Regions from separate parts of the Homo sapiens genome. Here regions 1, 3, 4, 5, 6 and 7 are each linked to region 2. The links are contacts of gene promoters, found by promoter capture Hi-C in blood cells and fetal thymus (Javierre and others, 2016). All regions are on one chromosome and are shown on one strand. The core of a region is centred on a gene start or on the middle of the fragment in contact, and the rest is flanking DNA. Distances in the headings are between cores, read along the strand shown. Region 1 overlaps MARCHF1 (membrane associated ring-CH-type finger 1). Region 2 holds the start of MSMO1 (methylsterol monooxygenase 1). Region 3 overlaps MARCHF1 (membrane associated ring-CH-type finger 1). Region 4 holds the start of TMA16 (translation machinery associated 16 homolog). Region 5 overlaps TMA16 (translation machinery associated 16 homolog). Region 6 overlaps MARCHF1 (membrane associated ring-CH-type finger 1). Region 7 holds the start of TKTL2 (transketolase like 2).

What was found. The method cuts DNA at HindIII sites, captures the fragments that hold promoters and counts their contacts. A CHiCAGO score of 5 or more calls a contact.
Region 1: a contact is called between a fragment that was not itself captured here and the fragment with the promoter of MSMO1 in region 2, in 12 of 17 cell types (non-activated CD4 T cells, total CD4 T cells, fetal thymus and 9 more). The highest score is 22.4, in non-activated CD4 T cells.
Region 3: a fragment that was not itself captured here is called in contact with the fragment with the promoter of MSMO1 in region 2 in 5 of 17 cell types (total B cells, total CD4 T cells, naive CD4 T cells and 2 more); the score reaches 8.8 in total B cells.
Region 4: the fragment with the promoter of TMA16 here is called in contact with the fragment with the promoter of MSMO1 in region 2 in 3 of 17 cell types (naive CD4 T cells, total CD8 T cells and total B cells); the score reaches 5.5 in naive CD4 T cells.
Region 5: a contact is called between a fragment that was not itself captured here and the fragment with the promoter of MSMO1 in region 2, in 6 of 17 cell types (total B cells, total CD4 T cells, naive CD8 T cells and 3 more). The highest score is 8.8, in total B cells.
Region 6: a fragment that was not itself captured here is called in contact with the fragment with the promoter of MSMO1 in region 2 in 7 of 17 cell types (M0 macrophages, total B cells, naive B cells and 4 more); the score reaches 20.7 in M0 macrophages.
Region 7: a contact is called between a fragment that was not itself captured here and the fragment with the promoter of MSMO1 in region 2, in 4 of 17 cell types (monocytes, total B cells, naive CD8 T cells and 1 more). The highest score is 9.3, in monocytes.

Annotation. Positions count from the first base shown.
Region 1 is chr4:163,554,166-163,557,004 of GRCh38, forward strand. All of the region lies in intron 8 of MARCHF1 (membrane associated ring-CH-type finger 1), which reads right to left. Among named protein-coding and RNA genes, the nearest start is that of TMA16, 61 kb to the left of the region's middle. The HindIII fragment of the contact is 782 bases long and covers 1,048-1,829 here.
Region 2 is chr4:165,326,246-165,329,002 of GRCh38, forward strand. MSMO1 (methylsterol monooxygenase 1) reads left to right here and starts at 1,424. Exons shown (of 6, transcript NM_006745.5): 1 at 1,424-1,519. RefSeq lists a silencer at 1,023-1,362 and an enhancer at 1,453-1,722. The HindIII fragment of the contact is 2,277 bases long and covers 1-2,256 here.
Region 3 is chr4:163,533,734-163,536,454 of GRCh38, forward strand. The region is part of intron 9 of MARCHF1 (membrane associated ring-CH-type finger 1); the gene reads right to left. Among named protein-coding and RNA genes, the nearest start is that of TMA16, 40 kb to the left of the region's middle. The HindIII fragment of the contact is 2,117 bases long and covers 347-2,463 here.
Region 4 is chr4:163,493,304-163,496,222 of GRCh38, forward strand. It overlaps TMA16 (translation machinery associated 16 homolog), which reads left to right and starts at 1,387. Exons shown (of 7, transcript NM_018352.3): 1 at 1,387-1,501. The coding sequence starts at 1,499. LOC124900805 (a long non-coding RNA gene) reads right to left here and starts at 1,921. Exons shown (of 2, transcript XR_007058354.1): 1 at 1,859-1,921; 2 at 1-1,593. RefSeq lists enhancers at 1,278-2,180, 1,644-1,783, 1,814-1,963. The HindIII fragment of the contact is 17,381 bases long and covers 1-2,919 here.
Region 5 is chr4:163,515,601-163,518,554 of GRCh38, forward strand. TMA16 (translation machinery associated 16 homolog) reads left to right here. Exons shown (of 7, transcript NM_018352.3): 6 at 1,834-1,876. Among named protein-coding and RNA genes, the nearest start is that of TMA16, 22 kb to the left of the region's middle. The HindIII fragment of the contact is 9,289 bases long and covers 1-2,954 here.
Region 6 is chr4:163,592,450-163,595,310 of GRCh38, forward strand. All of the region lies in intron 7 of MARCHF1 (membrane associated ring-CH-type finger 1), which reads right to left. Among named protein-coding and RNA genes, the nearest start is that of TMA16, 99 kb to the left of the region's middle. The HindIII fragment of the contact is 4,571 bases long and covers 1-2,861 here.
Region 7 is chr4:163,473,685-163,476,472 of GRCh38, forward strand. TKTL2 (transketolase like 2) reads right to left here and starts at 70. Exons shown (of 1, transcript NM_032136.5): 1 at 1-70. The coding sequence starts at 50. The HindIII fragment of the contact is 1,333 bases long and covers 800-2,132 here.

The DNA.
Region 1 (2,839 bases), core at 189-2,688, 1.8 Mb before region 2:
ATCATTTTTAAGGCTTTAGAAAAAGGTGCATTTATTTAAAGTAATAGTAAGAGATATATATTGTACTGATATGCTTGTCACGTTAGTTTACAATGTGAGGAATACGCCACTAAGAATTGTGACTCAGTGGTGCTGCTGGATGCATGAGAGAGGTGTTAACAACTGCCAGATGAGAAATTGTCCAAATGCAAAGGTATTAGTAGAGTCAGAGGCCAAGGGAACATAGAAGGTGTTGGAAAGAACAATGGAGAGCAGAGAGAGCTGGGGTAGGAGCAGGAGGCCTGGGGTGGTGTGGAGGGAGAGGAGTACAATGTGGTAGTTAGGTCGAACAGGCTAGAAGCCACATGGTCAGAGAGGCTTGGAGCGAAGCAACTAAGAACTCAGACTCCTGGGTTAGGGAGACTTGGGTCAGAGACCCCTGTCTGGCTTGGGTCAAGTAACCTAACCTCCTAATGCCTCAGTTTTCTCATTGGTAAAATCAGGATGACAACAGTGTCTCTTGTATAGAGTTTGCTGGAATTATATGAGATAATCTAGTTAGCACATAGTAAACAGGGAAGTAAACCAGGCATAAATATTCTAAAAATAGTGTGACCAGTAAATTCAAAGCTACCAAATTATTTTTATAAAACAGATAAGCCATTTTATGTTCAGTCAACTAAATGATGATTAAGAATTTCTCTACAAAATATATGCACATTACTTATTACATGCATATGTAAATATATATGAGCCCAATGTTAGATTACCAAAATAATTTTTCTTATAAACCTTGTCTTGATCTCTCACTGGTTTCTTTCAAGATTTTCATGACAGATGGGATTTCCTAAAAGTTTTAAGCAAGATATTTGTAATATAGAAAAAAAGGTGCTGAGTAAAATCATCCACTAGAGGGAGTAATGATATCACGCATAATGATGATATGAATGGAAAAAAGAGAAATGGAAAAATGTTTGTATATCTGTCCTGAGGGTAGATATAATATGTGGGATTTAGGCACATTTGCAGTGGAACTGTTGGGATAAAAGTTAAAATTGCAAATTCCTAAGCTTTGTTCCAGATTTATATCTGGGGGTGTGGCCTAGGAATCTGCATTCCTGGCAGGCACTCCGAGAGATTTTTATATATGCTGAACTTTGACAATTACTTCCCTAAGGAAGGAAAAGTTCAGGGACATATTTTAGAGTGGCATTGTAATATCTGACGGTTTTTCACAGAGTGAATATACTTTCACCTCCTTCCATATCCCCCCAAAAAACTCACCTAAATCTGAGTTGATTAATATCACCATGTAAGAACACAAATTACTTGAAAGTTTAATTAATAGATGCATTTAAACAAAGTTCCTTTAAAAATATTGAATCAATACTTGGTTGTCTGTTTTCTCTCGGAGGTTATGGTGAAAGATATTTTATCACACATTCTGAAAGAGAAGTCAGTATATTACTGCTTCAGGCATGTTGAACCAGCAGAAAATCTACTGAGCTGTGTCCATGAGGATACTTAATTATGGATTGTGGCTTCATAAAGAAAACAAAAGGAATAATTGGGTTACATTTCACAGTGGCATAGTCTCTCTTCCCCAGAGGTTGAAACCCTTGCCGAGCGGACTCTTGGATGACACTGCCATTGATGATGTTTTCCCTGGAAGCCCATTTCTGTTGTGGGCTCTTCGCCTCTTACCTCTTCAGTGAACAGCTATGGCACACGTGGAATCTGCACAGGTCTGTGGTCACTCTCTGTGCCTAAGTGATCATAGCCTTGCCGTTTAGGAGACAGTGCTCGTGTACTAAGCAGAAGCACAGACACTGGGAAGATTAAAAGAGAAAAGCTTTTAAAAATACCCAATTTTACCCCATCATTTTCTAGTTGAAGAAACTGAGGCCCAGAGCACTGAGTTGACTTACCCAGTCATTATTAGATGACATTATTAGATTTTTTTTCGTTCAGGAGCTAATTATTAAAGCATCACAATGTATCGGACATTGTTGTAGGATGCTAGGGAAGAAGACAGCCAAGATTTCTGCTTTGATGAAGCTTATATTAGGGTCCCAATTGTGGAATTTTGTGTAGTTGTTAAAATAGGGAACTGTGTAATTTTCCATCAATAAGAGATAATAGGTTTTGATTTCATAAGTGCTTCTATCCCTTTCTCAATTCTGTTGTGTATGTTTAGAAATGTCTTTCTAGAATATTCCTTTGGGTGGCAGCAAATAAAAAGAGAATCTTTTTGGAACCGTCTATTTGTATCTACCCACAGTAAGCTCATCTACTGACAATCCATTGTTGATGCTTATTCTCATGGGTCAAAAAAATTCTTACATCCTATTTGCACTCTTTAATAGCAGTGTCACATCTGAACATTGTATTTAATGTAATTGAGTTGATTTTTTTTTTTACTCTCGAGAGTCTCTTAGCCACATATACACTTGAAATAAATCATATATATACGATTTATATATAAATAAAACAGAATATATATTTGTACATATATTCTACTCCAGTTTAAATGAGAGCCTGTGAAACTTGAAGTATTGGTTCCAGTTTTGGATATAATAATACTTTAAAAAATAGTGTTTTAGTTACTATATCTAAAAATCCATTTTATCAGTACTTTGATATCAAGCATGATTAATTGGCTCAATATATTACATTTGAATTTGTTTTTGGCACCATACTGACTCAGCGTTTCTTAAGAATTTTGTCCTAAAACTGAAGATTTTTTTTTTTTTTTAAAGAGAAGATTCTTTTGGGGTATAGAAATTTCTTAAATTGTATACAAAATATTGTGTGCATTTATTTTTTTCTGGGGAAAGGTCCATGATTTTCAATGGATTCT
Region 2 (2,757 bases), core at 174-2,673:
CCCCACCCCTTTTTCCCAGATTAACTTCATAAAGTATATAGGCATGGTTTCAGACACCACTGTAAAGGCATCCTAAAGACAGGGCTGACTCTGACAACCAAGGGACAGATCCCATTTCTTTTCATTTGACGTGACCGCTGTCATGATACTTTACAAAGAATGTGTGTGCCAAACATGAGGGATAGACGAATAAGTACAGGTCACACTGAATCTAAAAAAGACACTTTTCAAGAGGGAACTTCCTCAAGGAGATAGTACCTGAATTGATGGGGCGGCATGGAGATGGCTGATTATTCCAGGCAGAAGGGCCAGTTTGAGCAAAAGCATGGAGGAATGAAACAATAGTATTCTGTTTTCAGAAGCTGTATATATTTGACACAATATACACATAATCAAAACATGTGTACGCCGTAAACACAATTTTTGTCAATTATACCTTAATAAAGAAGGAGGAAAAAGGGCCTTCACTAGCCCAAATGATGCCCCTGTGCGGTTTTTTCTTTAAAGGCACCTCTTCCGTTAAGTGAAAGTTTTAGTATATTATCACATCTGTACAGTTTTATTATTAAACCCCAGTACACAATATTTTAATGTTGAGAGATGGTGTAAACTGAGCTTTAGAGCTGCAAAGACCTGCGTCAAGCCCCCGCCCCCGCCCCCGCCCCCGGGCACTCATCGTCCAGCACAACAATTGCAACAACACCTGGGCGTTCTCTGCCCATGTAGCGAGGTCAAGGTCCTGGGAGCCGAACTCTCCCTTGATGTTCAATCTTTTTAAATCTTTCCCAGCCTTTATTTCTCATCTGCAAAATGACGATAATCGCATTTGAAATTCTCCGTTTTCAAAATGCAGGAATTTATTAAAGGATACGTAGGCTGGGGAAACAAGGGAGACGAAAGATCTAAATCTAAATGGTAGACCAGAAAAAGGAAGGCAAGGGTGTCTGGAAACACAAAACAGTCAACATAGATTTTAAGACTCATCTATACTCTCTTCTTCCCGGGTTTGGGAACTGCGGTTGCTACACAGGTCACATTTGAAATAAAAGTCCTGGGACGGCGGCCGGCGCGACACTCTCCCCCGCACAGCGCAGGCTCTCACTGGGAATCTGCCGGGACCGCAGTTGCCAAGGCGACTCCGCGCTGCAGGGCGAGGCGGCCATCCGTCTGTGCCCGCCCCCTCACGCCGTGGCGCGCTCTCACGCTTCCCCGCCTCCGGGCGCTCCGCGGTGCCGACCATTGGCTGGCTCTGCAGGTCTCACTATCCTCACTCCATCCGCGGAGCCAATGGCTGGGACCGCCAGGAGCTCGTTCGCGCGAGTCACACGATGTCGGCAACTGCACAGACCAATCACCGCGCCGAGAAGGCGGGGCGGGAGCTCTCGCAGGCCAATAACGACAGGACGGGCCGCCTGGCCCACCCGGCTCCACCCCCAAGCCAGGCGAGGCAGGTTCCGAGGTTGGAACACCTGGCGAGTCCTCGGTGTCGGTGGCCGGCAGTCATCTCGCGGCCGTTCAGGTGAGGGGGTTGGAGGAGTGGCTCATGAGCGAGGAAGGGGGAGCAGGCGGGCTCCCACCCGGTGCTCCGTGAGATCGAGGGGAGCGGGTTCTGGGTGCGGATGCACGCGCTGGGCGGGACGCTGGCAGTGGTACCCGAGACGGGGCGGAAGGAGACTGGAGTGAAGGTGGGCCTAGGCTAAGGTACGTGCTAGAAAGGATGAAAACGGAGTGAAATTCTTAAGTGATGGAACTAGGCTAGGGCATGTTTCTTGCCCTTTAAAATGTGTTGTCTTCGGGAGACAGGACGTAGAAGATAGTTGCAGCACAGGGTGATAGGCTGGCGAAAGTTATACAAAAGCAGGAACCACTAGAAGGAGGTAAGATGTAGTGTGCTTTGGGAGTAGTGGGGTTGGGAAGGGCGTCCGAGAGGAGGTTACTGAAGGATGACTAGGAGTTGAATGGGAGGACATCACCTGTAAGGGAACGATATTTCCGTGGGCAGAGAGGAATGAAGCAGTAGCAACCATGAGTGATCAGATACTGCAAAAATGTGAAGTGTAGGATGGCGAGAATGTAAGAAATGAAGAGTGAAGAAGTCTGGAAGGGCCTCGTGTGCATCAATCACAGCGGGGCTTGATCTTTATGCTTAGGGCAAGCACTCCCTTGAACTTTGAGTGTTTTAAGGAGGTTATCTCTGATGTTTAAATTTATATAGATCGTGGCATTGCATCTTAGAAATAAGGTTTAGGAAGGGCAAGCTTGGAGGCAGGGCAAGTCCAGAAAATGAAGGAGCTGGTGAAATCCGTGTTAAAGTGCCAAAGGACAGAGACTGGCTGACAGCTAAACTTCAAGGTTTCTGAGAATCCACAAATAACTAAATTTATCTAGTCAACCTGTTCCAGAACAGGCTTCCAGTCATTTAGGTTGCCCAAGAATGAGTAAAGGAAAAGGAAATTCAATTTTCCAAGACCTTGTTTCCCCTCTCCTCTTTAATTCCTTGTTCGGTTAGCAACAGTATATCCATTCCCTCGCTCCTTTGTGAAAAGTAAATTCCTGAATGTTAACTAAACCAAGTGTTTCTAAATTGGGTAAGAGTTTGAAGACTTAAGGCAGCAGAATGGGAGAGACTTAAAACGTTATGTCTGAGAATTAGGCATTAAAGGAGGCCTAGTATTTGGGCGGGGGTTGTGAGGAGCACATACTGAACCTTTGGACCTGTTGAGTGAGTTCATGTGCCTCTGAACTCTCTGACTGGAT
Region 3 (2,721 bases), core at 155-2,654, 1.8 Mb before region 2:
ATGAATTCATCACTGTGTCTAGGTCAGTTTATAGAATTTCTTCGAGTAAGAGATGGGTTTGTGAGCATTTAGGTATTTGGAAATTGGTAATGTATGCATGATATATTTATGGAAACTATTGCACAAAAACACTCCATTTCTTTTTAGCCATGCCCAATGGAGTTTATTGTGCCTAAAATTTGCTGCAGTCTTGCACAATAAATGCTCATGATCTATACCTCTATTTATTTTATCGTCATCCTCAGCTGCCTGATTTCTCTCATCCAGTGCCTTTCTTAGTAAACTTTATCCAAAGTCCTATCTGGGTAGCTGTTTTCCAAACATTGCACATCCTAATATAGGTTTAAGCTTTAGCACATGCTATTCCTCTGTTTAGAGTGCCGCGCTCTTTACAATAAACTTCTACTAATCTTTCAGAACCCACTCCAGGGAGAAAAAGGTGCAATCTGTCATGAGGTTGGCAAACACAGCATTCGTGCCCTAATTACTACCAACACTCTTTCCTGCTAATCCCTATGATAGCTTCATGGTTCCTAACACCACAATCTAGGTCAACTTCTGGAGTTGGCATGAGAAAAAATCTTTTTGCCATCTGGCCCAGAGGAAGAAGATGCCTTTTCACAATATTGCAAATTCCCTACATCGTAGTCCAGGAGAAACCCTATTAATGTTAACTAATTAAATGCTGTTGTTTGGAGTAAAATAGAGTAACTCTGAACTTCTTAATAAAACTAGGAGAAAGACTGACGGTTTCATGTCTCTCCCTACCCAAGTCGCTATTTAAAAAAATTAATTAGTGTATCATGGAGTTAAACTCTTTGAAGGAACAGATTCAATTATCAATATATTTACTTAAGAGAAGATGCTAAAAGATGTTAGAAAACAAATCGTCAAGAAAACAGACCTTTGATTTTAGAAACTTTAGAGTACGAAAATGGACTATACCAGGCATTTATCATTAATCAGTGTCTGTTAGTCGTATACAAATGTTTCCATGGTCCCTTTCTCCTATAGACTTCTTTGATCTTAAGGATAGGAATTTTAAAAATAGAAGTATGCTACTTGGATTTGATTTATTTATACAAATGCATTTGCAACGAACACGTGTTCGATAATAGCACTGTTGTTATCTAGTGGTAATAGTGGTACTGTATCATGTATTCCAATACTCTCCAGAAACATTTTCATTTTAGGATAAAAAATACAGAAATAATTACATACAATTATGAGATGAATTGCTTTATACTTATTTATAAATTTCCCAAGTAACTTATAGACAAATATAATACTTTAAAGTAGTAATAATAATTTTTGACCATTAGTGCAACTTTTAAAAAATGTTGTTCTACTTTGACAGCACTAGTTCCTCATCTAAAGATTTCACAGTATCGTTCATAACGAAACATACGTTCCACACTTTTAACATATTCTAGGTATTCCTGCATATATTATTCATTTTTGGAAAAAAAATTGAGGGGGGTATATAAAAGAATCATTTTTCTTATAAAAAAGTTTTTAAAGAAAATATCAGGCTGATACAATACAAATTGTTTTATTCTTGATTTTTCTGGTGTTCCAGCAAAATAACTGAACTAAAAATTCAGAGTTCAAAGGCCTTTAAAGACCATCTATTTCAATTCTCCCTTCTTCTCCCCCTTTTGCTATTTCATGCCAAAGGTGAGCTTATTACCCAATGATCTTGACCTAGTAATCTTTGATAGTGTTGAAATTTGATTTGTGTATTGCATGGAAATAGCAGTTAACTTGCTATTTTTATTTAAAAAATACTCCAAGGCAAAGTCTTCATAAGTGATTTAAAGAGTTCTGAAGAATAATCAGGAGTATGTGATGATTCTAATAGTCCCAGATAAGTGGCAGCACACATTTATACATGGCTGGACGCCTGTGTCCATTTTTCCTGTATGCTAAGTAACACAGTGGCATCAAACGGTAGTTAGTAATAAAAAGAGCTAAATTATTCTCTATGCAGAGAGTCCATGCATTTGGAATATAGAAGGGCTTTTTTTTTTTTTTCTTAAGTTCCTACTTGGCTGTCTTCATCTATGCAAGGAGAACAATCATCTGAAACACTGACTCAGTGTAGACCATAGGTTCACCACTGGGGGCAGTTTTGTTCTCTGGGGGACATTTAGCAGTGTCTAGAGACATTGTTGATTGTTGTACCTGGAGTGGGGTGCTTCTGACTTTTATTAGAGGCCAGGCATGCTGCTGGACATCCTACAATGCACAGGACAGTACCTTCCAACAAAGAATTATTCAGTTCATAATGTCCATAGTGCTGAGGTTGAGAATCCCTGCTGTGGAAGACAATAACTTACGTCTCTTTATTGGGAAATTTGCAGAAAGGATTTGGAATATGAGCAAGACATCTTGCAGTTCTCCAAATTCAAAAGGATTTTTGCTGTAAACTTATATTAAGCAGTAGTTTCAATGTGTTTAGAAAGCTTTAACCACAGACAGACTGGAGATGAAATGTGCTTTATTTCCCATTTTTAGGGAAATTCTCATGGACTACATCCAGCTTTCTCCTCTGCTTAACCAAACTAGCAGCTGTTCCTTATACATGCCTGGAAGTTTTCCATTTCTGAGCCTTTGTCTCCGATCTTTTTTCTTTCTGTGTTTTGCTTCCCTGCTTCTATGTGTCTACTTGTCCCACAAAACCCATCTTAGAGGTCATTTCCAGCTGGAAATAAGTTTTCC
Region 4 (2,919 bases), core at 137-2,636, 1.8 Mb before region 2:
GTAGTGTACTTTCATTTAAAATAAATCTCTGCTTTCGCTGCCTTGCTTTATTTGTGTGTTTTGTCCAATTATTTGTTCAAAACGCCAAGGACCTAGCCAACTACCCTCAACTGTTAACAGCTGCACACACATATCAAGGCACACCAGCTTCACCCTGCCTGGAGCTTCTTCCCATGCCTAGTTTTCTCTTACAATTCCGGTCTCTGCTCAATTATCACTTCTAAAAGAGGACTTTATAGAGACCACCATGTGTAAAACAGCTTTTCTACATGCCCCCGCCAGCTAATTTTTATTAGAGTACTTATATTATTTGAAATAATATTTTTACATGCCTCCATCCCCTGGAAAATGAGCTGAGTGAGGGATATTGTTGGAGTATCCCCAGTACCAGGCACACAGTAGGCATTCAATAAATAGTTTTTGAATGATTACATTGTCTACGGAATTCTAACATGTATGGGTGAAACAAAGACTCTCACATGCTGTGAGAAGAAAACAAAAACTGGGTTGGCAGAGGCCTTGAATATGAGGAAGTGGCCTTTCCGGATAAAGAAACTAAGACTCGGCCGGGCGTGGTGGCTCAGGCCTGTAATCTCAGCACTTTGGGAGGCCGAGGCGGACGGATCACCTGAGATCAGGAGTTCGAGACCAGCCTGGCCAACACGGCGAAACCCCGTCTCTACTAAAAATACAAAAAAAAAAAAAAAAAAAAAAAATTAGCCGGGCGTGGTGGCGGAGGCCTGTAATTCCAGCTGTTCGGGAGGCTGAGGCAGGAGAATCGCTTGAACCCGGGAGGAAGAAAGAAAGAGGGAATGAGGGAAGGCGGGAAAGAGGGAAAGAAGAAAAGAAAAGAAAGGAAAGAGAAGAGGGGCGGGGCGGGGCAGGGCAGGGCAGGGCAGGGCAGGGCAAAAAAAGACTCAGTGCAGGAAAGGACTTGCCCAAGGTAATCTAGTACGTGGAAAAGCGGAGGGCAGGAGCCTGTGCCGTGCAAGAGCTCCGGGGAGCCAACACCGAGCGGCCCTTTTGAGAGGGTCCCAGCCCCTGAGATGCGGGAGCCCGCAAGAGGGAACCTCTTGTCTGAAGAGGTTGCTGCGCTCTGGAGTCGTGCTCTGGGACAGATGGGCAAGCTCCGCTCTTGGGGCCGGAAGCGTGTAGCGTCTCCACCCGGGCTCCAATCCCCAGCCTCGCACTCAGCACCAGGCAGAGTTCAGCCTCCCGCCGCAAGCTCCCTTCCGCCGCTCCCGGCGAGCACGCAGGTCTGGCTGTCCGTTGGGCTAGAGCTTAAAAGCCCAACACGGGCGAAAAAGACGCGGTCTCAGTTAACGGGGACGCTTTAGAGAAACGCACTCGCCTCTCCTGTTCCGGTTGGGTCGGCGCGGGCTTCTCAGGCGCCACGTGGGATTCGGCCCGGGTGCTCTTGTGAGCTGCTGCTCCTGCGGTTGGTGAGATTACCTGGGTCTAGAGTGCGGAGCTGCTCCGTGGCCACGAGGACGTCACCATGGTGGGCCCCCTCCTGCTCCCCCGAACCGCTCGGTTGGTTCCCCGGAAGGCTCTTGTTGAGCAGGCAGAGAGGGAGGGTGCGGTTTCGGGAACCTAGGAGAGGGGAGGATGCAAAGTGTTTATTTTCAGGGAGTGTGCGGGGTGCGGGGCGAAGCCTCTGGGAGGCGAGTCCCAGGCCCAACGCCTGGACCTTAGAGTTCCGCGTCCGAGTGCTGAAGTGCTCACACGTCGCCTTGCTCCTCTTTGCCTTGTGCCTAACTTCTCGCTAGTCACTACTTCCTGGGGGAAACCCGGCACCTTTCCATTGTAACGCATCGAGGAGTTTGGCAAAACTTCTGAGATCGCTGGCCCTACACACCTCTGCCTCTCTGGCCTGGGTAGACTCAGTATGTGGGCTTAGTCGCCTCTTCCTCGGCGTCCGTTCACCTCTCGTTAGTGCCCTGAATCCTGCCGTTACGCCCCCATTCGCTCCAGGGCACTGAAGCAGTTTTGTTGTTTTTATTAAAAACTGAGTAGATACAAAAGAGTGTTACTAAAGCACATTTCAAGTGTAAAGATGAACAGTTTCAGGAATTCTCGTTTACCCATTTTGTAGTTTTAAGAAATAAAACATAGCCTTTGAAAGCCCTGTGTTACCTTCTTTGAACTTTCAGGAAACCTTAAGAAGCAAACATTATCTAAGTTTTGTATTTATAATTTCACTACTTTTCTTTATAGTTACTACATATATTTGTATTTTGAAACAGTATGTTGTTTCTTGCCTATTTTTTACGTAATCGTTGTGTTCTTGAGAGTAATTCTTGCATAGAAACATGCTTTATAAATTTTTTTCAATTAATTTTTAATAAAAGCAAAATTTTAAAAGTTTATAATCTGGTCAGAAGTTACGATATTGTGTCCACAATGTGGCCTCTTTGTTTCTTTTCATTTTTTTCTCTTTTCATTGTATGCCATTTTTGTCTTACAGTCTGGTTCTTTCGTTGTTTCGCGAGTTTTTTGTGCTTTATTTTGATCCACTGCTGACGCATATTTTGTACTTTAGATTGTACACATTTGTGTAAATTCAGTGTTTGCTTGTCACTTTGCTTGTGGGATTTCCAACTCTTTATAGTGTTAGTTTTTTTCCCCTTTTCAGAGTGGAATATGAAAGCAATTACATCTCATTGTGTTTGAGTGATTGGGGAGATAGATTGGTATTTGACTGTAGTTGTCCTTGACTATCAGAGCTTCACTTTTTATCAGGCTGTATAGTAGAAGTACGTTGCTTTGGCATAGAAGTCAAAAGAGTGGCATATGAACCTGTTTTCATTGGCTCATTTCTGGCTCTGTCATTTTTTTTTGATATAACCTCATTAGTGGTTTTGCTGCATCCTCTTTCAGTACAGCTCAGAATGTGGTCCCAAAGGACAGAGTTGGGCA
Region 5 (2,954 bases), core at 347-2,846, 1.8 Mb before region 2:
GAAAAATTTTGGATTCTTTTTTTTTCCCCTACATTCCCAACAAAACTATCAAGTTTGTGACAGTGATGTGACATCATGTCTTTTTTACCGTGATAGTAATACTGATTACTTTCACATTGATCTTGTCAACCCTAACTTGTCTCCAGAACTCCAAATTTGCAGTATCACATATGGATTTCTCAAACTCTCTACTTGCATGTCTTTTGGGCATCTCAGACTTGACATGTCATGAAACAAAGGCCAGCTTTTCTCCTAAAACTTGCTCCTCCTGCAGGTTTCTTATTCCAGTCAGTGGCATTACCACCTGCCCAGTTGCTCAGATCAGAAACTCTACAGTCACTTTCATAGTCCACATCCAACCCGTCAGCAAAGCGTTTAGAATCTGATGACTTTGACTACTACTACTACCATCTCCCACTTCCCTGGTTCAGGCCACTATCGTCTCACCTGTACTATGGTAATAGCCTCCCAGTTGCTCTCTGTACCTCCACTCTTTCCTGCTAAAGTCTGTTCAACATGTAGCAGCCAGATGAGTTGGCAGTATTTATCAGAGCACATCCAAAGTAAACCATTTGTTGGTGATACAGCTAGGACTAAAACTCAGATCTGCTGTGCTGCAGTGCTTTTCCCAGAATCAGGGGATGGGTCTGATGAACAGACTCTGATGAGTTTGCAGGTGTCCGTTTCCCTTTGGGGAAATTGTCACCAAATTCTGTTTTGATAAGATTTTGAGAAGACTAGATAGAACCATCCCCTCTCCCCTCCTTATGTGGTGTAACTATTTCTGATTCATTAAGATTCCTTTACAAATTGTTTTTGTGCTTATTTATACTTTTTAACACCTAGCCCCTCATACTGTTATTCTCTGAAACTATTGAAAAAGTCAATAGACAGTTGTAGCAAACATGCTTATTTTATCTTCTTTATTACTTGATACTAAATTTCATTTAACATTGTATTGAATTGGCCAGATATTGGCAGCAGCCTTCCAGTTTTTGTTGTTCATGCCTCTTGTATTTCACCAATTTAAGTGTATCATGCATATTGGTTTATGATGGAACTTTTGAAATATGGTAAAGAACTACCATATACCTGGTTTTTATTAAAAATGGATTTAAGTTTTATTGAACTTCTTTAAGCAAAATTTTTTTTTTAATTTAAAAAAGTCTTTTTTTCACATTTGGAAAAATGTGATTTTTTTAAACATTAATTCTTGCATTCCTGAGATAAATTCTACCTTGTGAAGGCAGATTATACGTTTGAAAACATTGTACTTTTCACGAAGAAAAAATATACAACCTGGCATGTTATTTTAGTGAATTGACAGTTATACTTTGCCAGGTACCTTTTATTGTTAAAAAAGGACAGGGTTTATTTTGTTAATAGCTTTGGTTTTGTTTTGTTTTTTTTCTCCTGCCTCAGCCTCCCGAGTAGCTGGGACTACAGGTGCCCGTCACCACGCCCGGCTAATTTTTGTATTTTCAGTAGAGATGGGGTTTCACCTTGTTAGCCAGGATGGTCTTGATCTCCTGACCTCCTGATCCACCTGCCTCAGCCTTCCAAAGTGCTGGGATTACAGGCATGAGCCACCGCGCCTGGCCTAATAGCTTTGTTTTATTTCATGGATTCTATGCTAGAATTTATCATTTAATAGGATTTTTCTTAAGTCATCTTAAACTAACCCCTTTTGCAAATTTTTCATGTTAATTACAGCAATACTTCGAAATTTTGTTTTCTGTTGGATATTCTTGCTAAAAATTATTATTTGTTGTACATAAAATTATGTGATTTAGAAAACATTGCCTCATGGAGATAAATTACTTTCTTTTCCAGAGATTCCAGACATTCTAAATGCAAGTAATCTGAAAACATTTAGGTGAGTCTGTCTTGTATTGTTCCCCTGAAGCTGTGTGTAAAGTACCTGACAGGTGAACTTTCTTCCCCTTTGAGTCTAGCCGGTAGAACTAAAAGAAAATCGGGTTTCTTTTAACCTTTTCTTTTTTATCTGACCAAGTAAGAATTTTCTGAAGTTGGGCGTACAAACAGTTGATCTGCACCAACAGGATGGTAACCTGGTGTGCTTTTTGTTTTTCAAAATGGTTTAAGATACATTGTTATAGTACCTCAAAGTATGTGATCTCACTATTCCTCCCCAGTTTTATTTTTTTAAAAAAGAAGTAACAGCAACAGACGTGATGGCTCAGAGTCATATCCCCAGGCTGTTCTGTAGCAGCCTCTTTTGCAGAGAAGATGGTTATAGGAATGACTCCAGGGAACAGGTTAAGTCATCAAGACCCGCTTTGTCCAGTGGTTTCTAGTTGTACTCTTTTGTAAACTGGGAAACTACCGAGTAGGATTTCGATTTTTTAGGTTTTTTTTTTTTCTTTTTTCAACTTTGATTTTAAATTCAGAGGTACATGAGTAGGTTTATTACAAAGGTGTACTGTGTAATGTTGAGGATTGGAGTAAGAATGAATCTACCCAGGTAGTGAGCATAGCACCCAGTACGTGGTGTTTTTAGCTCTTACCCCTTTCCTTCCCCCAACTTGTATTACCCAGTGTCTATTGTTCCCTTGTTTATGACCTTGTGTACCCAATGTTTAGCTCCTACTTATAAGTGAGAACATGTAGTATTTGGTTTTGTGTTTCTGTGTTAGTTCACTTAGGATAATCTGTAAAAATCCTAGAAGAAAACCTAGTAAATACCCTTCTTGATAGCAGCCTTGACAAAAAATTTATGGCTAAGTCCTCAAGCAATTGCAGTAAAAACGAAGATTGACAAATGGGACCTAATTTCTGCACAGCAGGATAAACTGTCAAGGGAATAAATAGACAACCTATAGAATGGGAGAAAATATTCTCAAATTGTTTGTATTCAACAAAGGCCTAATATCTGGAATCTATAAGAAACAAATGAATCAACAAGCAGTTTTTTAGTTTTTAAACATAGATTT
Region 6 (2,861 bases), core at 226-2,725, 1.7 Mb before region 2:
CAATGTCCCTGGCTTTCCTAACTCTATTCCTGGAGCTGATCCAAGAGTCGCAAGTAATCAGCCACATTTTTTTTTTTTTCACCACCAGACATCACACTGATGGAAAACAGTGGAGAAGAAGATAATGATCACCTTGCTTGGTCAATAATGAAAGCAGAGGAGGCCAAGTCTTATTTGAATTCACAGACATTGAATTCTGCAATGGATTGGGAAGATTCTATTGGAATTGCTTCTCTTGGGTGTCTCATCCCCTCTGGAGATGGTTCGATGCCATTGATACTAGGACTTTAAATTCTGCTTGGGACTGAGGATTCCCACTGAGATTCTATTATCATCTAGCCTAGTGGTTCAGTCTCATAGTGGGCCGGAGCCTCTTTGAAGACTATCTGAGAGGTCTCCATGGGCTCTTGAAACACATTAAGATTCCCCCATTCCCTCTATTGATGTGTGTAGCCCCTAGGAGTCCCAGTCAGTATATCTAGCAATCTTAAGATCAGCTCAGACTGTCCAAATCCTCCAAATCAGGAGAAATCAAAAGCTGGATTGCATCTTTTAGGATAATCCCTTCCCTGTTAACCATCGCTTTACTGCCCTCTCTATACTCATTGGTTAGCTCAGAGGACCATGTATTTCTGCATAAAGGAAATGAGTTCCCCAGTGCCATTTATCTTTCCAGATCCTACCTTACAATTTTGATGACTTGTGGATAAGTAAATAGATAATATATATTGAACGAATATCCGAAGGTTATGATTTTCTCTACATTTGCATATGTCATAAATATTCATTTTATATCAGCTTTGAGGTCTTTTTGGGTGCATTTGTAAGACTGACAAAATTAAACTAGAGATATTTCTAAGCAAATGTGCTTACAGTTATTAGGCTAAATTTTTGTTAGCTGCATACATTGAAGTAAAAAGGCAAAACAAAGGGACAGATAATAAAAACTCATTTGGCTTTAATATGTAGCTATAATCAAAGAAATATATATGGTCAGATACAGGAGAAGGCTTTTGTATATACATAATAACAGCTATCAGAAAAATTATGCAGTTATAACCTTTTAGCCTTTTTCATTTCTGCATGTGGCAGAAATTCTTAATTCAAACTGATTTTCTGATCTTTTTTTTGTGATGGCTAGGTGTTTGAATTTTTCTAAGCTCATCCTCAACCATGACTTCCTTCCAATTTTGTCCACTCATTAATCTTATCTGGCTGAGCATTACATCAAAGAAAGTCTCAAGTTGCCATGGATAATTGACAAAGCAGGCACTTTATTTACAGATAACCAAAAATGCATTGAATTAGAAATACGCCTTTGCATATGAATTCTTCTACAAAGGCAAGTAAGTACAAAATACTGATGTTTTACAGCAGTTCCAACCACATTGAGTGAAGAATGATCAACTTTTATTCATTTATTCACTCATTCATTCATTCATTCAGTCAACAAGTAATTTGTTGCTTATGTATATATGCAAGGTTTTATAAGGTCCTATGGTAAATATAAAGATGAATTAGTCTCAGTCTTTTTCCTTTAAGAAGTTTATATTGACAGTTTATGCATCAGACAACTGCAAAATTAGACAGGATACATTTAAAATGGGATGTGTGCCATGTCAAGTGCTGTTGTATGCAAAGGAGTGAAAGATCATCTCAGATTGGGGACCGGGGGAGGGTAGAAAGTTTAATGGAAGATGTGGCATGGGAATTGGAATTGAAGCTGGGGTAGAATTATGGCAGATGGAGAAGGATGTTGGTAGAATATACTAGGCATAGAAGATGTTTTCAGTCAATGCTTAGAAGTAGGATTGACTGGGTAATTTGGTAACATTATGTGGCCAAGTATGAAAAGAGCATGAAAGTTCTTACTCCAACTAAATACAATATTTAGTATATATTTAGTATATTTATTTAGTATATACAATAATACCACATTATTATTATATGATATAATAATACAATTAATTACTTTAGTAGGGAGATATCATGCTGAAAAATAAAGATTACACAGAGCCTGGTATTTCCCTCAACCAGTGCCAATACACACACACACACAAACACACACACAAACTAACTTTAATTGTATTTAGTTGAGTAGGAACCCACTACATAATTTAAATAAAAAATTAAGATTACATTAAAAAATGAGCAAAGGAGCTAAAAAGACATTTCTCCAAAGAAGACATACAAATGGTCAACAGCTATATAGAAAGGTGTTCAAAATCACTAATCATCAGGGAAATGCAAATCAGAGTCACAGTGAAATGTCACCTCGCACCCATCAGAATGGCTATTATCAAAACACAAACACACACACACACACACACACACACACCCAAACCCAAACAAGATAAATGCTCCTGAGGATGTGAAGAAGTTGGAGCCCTTGTACGCTGTTAGGAATAAAAACGGTGCAGCTGCTATGGAAAACAGTGTGGAGGTTTTTCAAAGAATTAAAAATAGAAATACCATATGAGCGAGCAATCCCACGTCTAAGTATCCAGAAGAATTGAAATCAGGACCTCAGATAGGTATCTGAACTCCCATGTTCATTGCAGCATTATTGACAAGAGTGAAGCTACGGAAACAACCTAAATGTCCATCAACTTATCAATAGAGAAAGAAAATATGGTATAAGCCAGCGAGTGGCTCATGCCTGTAAACTCAGCACTTTGGGAGGCCAAGGCGGGAGGACTGCTTGAGCTCAGTTTGAGAGTGAAGCTACGGAAACAACCTAAATGTCCATCAACTTATCAATAGAGAAAGAAAATATGGTATAAGCCAGTGAGTGGCTCATGCCTGTAAACTCAGCACTTTGGGAGGCCAAGGCAGAAGGACTGCTTGAGCTCAGTTTGAGA
Region 7 (2,788 bases), core at 216-2,715, 1.9 Mb before region 2:
CGCAGCACCTGCACGGTCTTCACGTCGGGCTTGGCGTCGTTGGCCATCATCTCTCTTTTGTCGGTTTGGCAAAGCAAACGGCGCCGCAGCACCCCCACAACCCACCGCGGCAGTGCTCTCACGTGACCGCCCCGCCCTCGCCTCCCCTCTGCCTGAAGGCCTGAGCTCAGCCACCAGCCGGGGCGCCCACAACGGAGCTTCCCGCGAGACTGAGGAAACGGAAACGTTGGAGTAGCCTGCACCCTCTGATGTGCACCGTTCCCTCTCCCTGTCCACGCCCAGCTGAATGGATTTTTAGTATTTACTTTGTCACGTGCATGTTCAACATTAGGAAGCATAATTAAATTTTTTACCTTTCCCTGTGTTATAAATTCAAGACTAGACATTTTTCTGTGTATTATAGGAAGCGATTTGTCAGGCTGTGCTTTTTTAATGCATTAACACTATATCCGAGTCATCACTCTTTCATATCAGAACATTAATAGAAAGGATACAAAGTCACTTTCAATCTGACCAGTATGGCAATGCTATCTCAACAGAGACTTTCTCAGAGCAACCAAATATCTGAATCTCAGACTTATAGAAAGAAATGCAATGACTAATTTGACCAAAATTTATAGGAAGAACAAATCTGAAACCACCCAATTGCAGAATAGAATTGCAACTCCAGTGTGCCGTAAAGTACTATTTCTGTGTTGAAATAATTAGAAGGCCAGTAGGCTGAGGTAGCTTCAGCTCCATGAGTTCCTACCTAAGGAAAGGAAACCCAAATCAGTGTAAATGATAAAAAGGAAATTTAAGCTTAATCAATCAGAAACTGCCAGCTAACTTCTAACTGGGGACTTTCCACTGGGATGACCCAAATAAGTCTAGTACTCCACTTTAACCAATCAAATATCTTTCCTTTGCTTCCAAATTCACCCTATAAAAGCCTTCTCCTTGGCTCCTTTATCAGGAGCTACCAGATTCATGAATCACTGAATGGTCAAATAAATGCTTTAATATTTTAATGTGCCTCAGTTTATCTTTTAATGACTATTACTACAAATCATTTTTAAGACAAAGTTACTTACTTTAAAAAACTAAATTTGTGGGCCGGGTGCTGTGGCTCACACCTGTAATCCCAGCACTTTGGGAGGCCGAGGCAGGCGGATCACAAGGTCAGGAGTTCGAGACCATCCTGGCTAACACGGTGAAACCCCGTGTCTACTAAAAATACAAAAAAATTAGCTGGGCGTGGTGATGGGCACCTGTAGTCCCAGCTACTCGGGAGGCTGAGGCAGGAGAATGGCGTGAACCTGGGAGGTGGAGCTTGCAGTGAGCCCAGATTGTGCCACTGCACTCCAGCCTGGGAGACAGAGCGAGACTCCGTCTAAAACAAAAAAAACTAAATTTGTGCCATTGAACTCTTCTAGCAGGCCAAGGTTATGGTTTGTCATCAATAAAACAACAATTAAAAAAAACACAATGATAATATATCATACCTTCCCATATTGCGATGTTAAACCTCTTGGTTTCTTGAGCAATAATTCTTACCTTAACTTCACGTTAAAATTAGGGCACATAAGAAACACAATGCCTGGTTCCATCCCAGAAAAATAGAATTTGAATTTCTGGACCTGGAGTCTGGGAAGCTATGTTTCTAAAATACATCCATTGATTATAATGGGTAGTCAAGGTTAATAACATAATCTGGAGATAGTCTGAGACCAGTGGTTCTCAACATTAGTTGTAGTTTAGAATTATCTGGGAAGTTTTAAAAACATCTCATGTCCATGCTGCACTCCAGACCAATTATATCAGAATTTCTAGGCAATAGATCTAGGCGTCAGTAATTTTAAAATCTTCCCCAGGCAATTTCAATGTTCAGTCAGGGTTGTAAACAACTAACTCAGGGGGTGTTGTTACTCTTTATACTTATTATCTCTTGCATTATATCTCAGAAAAATATTTCAAATGTTATTTGCTATTTCAACTAGTTCTATCATTTTAACTTTTAAGGACACATATTAGAATAAATAGTAATAATATGACACTACTGATTTTAAGACTTGTTGCAGGAATGTTGGCATTGGAGAAGTTCTTAAGAGGTCATCATGTATCCATAACTCTCCATGTCCTTTGCAAATTAAAGCTTGTTTATCTTTTTAGACAAATAAAGGAGGAGGAAATACAAGCAGACTAGGCTAGAACTGGTAGTACAGAAGATGGGAATTAGAGAAAAAATAATAATCACAGTAAAATAATAGCAAACTACTACAGGCTGACAGGAAAGTAGTTAATATAAACACAGGTAGCTCACCATTATTTTGGCCAAAAAGAACTCTAATAAATCCACACAATTAGTAAACATGATAGTACAAAAATGATTTATGAGGCAATGTTCCCATGAATAAAAACATGGGACTTCTTAACATTTCTTTCCAAGTTCCCACATTCTTTCACTCATTTAAAACATTGCACAGCTATTTCCTAAAGTATTAAATAAAAAAATTTTAACATTAGCAAAGGTCAATTTTATTAAGAGAAGAATGTAGTCTTGGAGATTTAATACCCTAGATAGTGAGTGTGAATTTCCCTCTATCATTCTGTGAGACCGTGTGAATTTTTTATACTATATAGAAAATAATATTTTATAAATTATGTGTAAAATACTTATAAACCATTCTGAGATTTTGTAAAAGGAACTCTGGAAAGATATATATATATATATATATATAAATATATAAAAGTATATATATAGTAAAATATCTGGAAAGATATACTATATATAAAAGTATATATATTA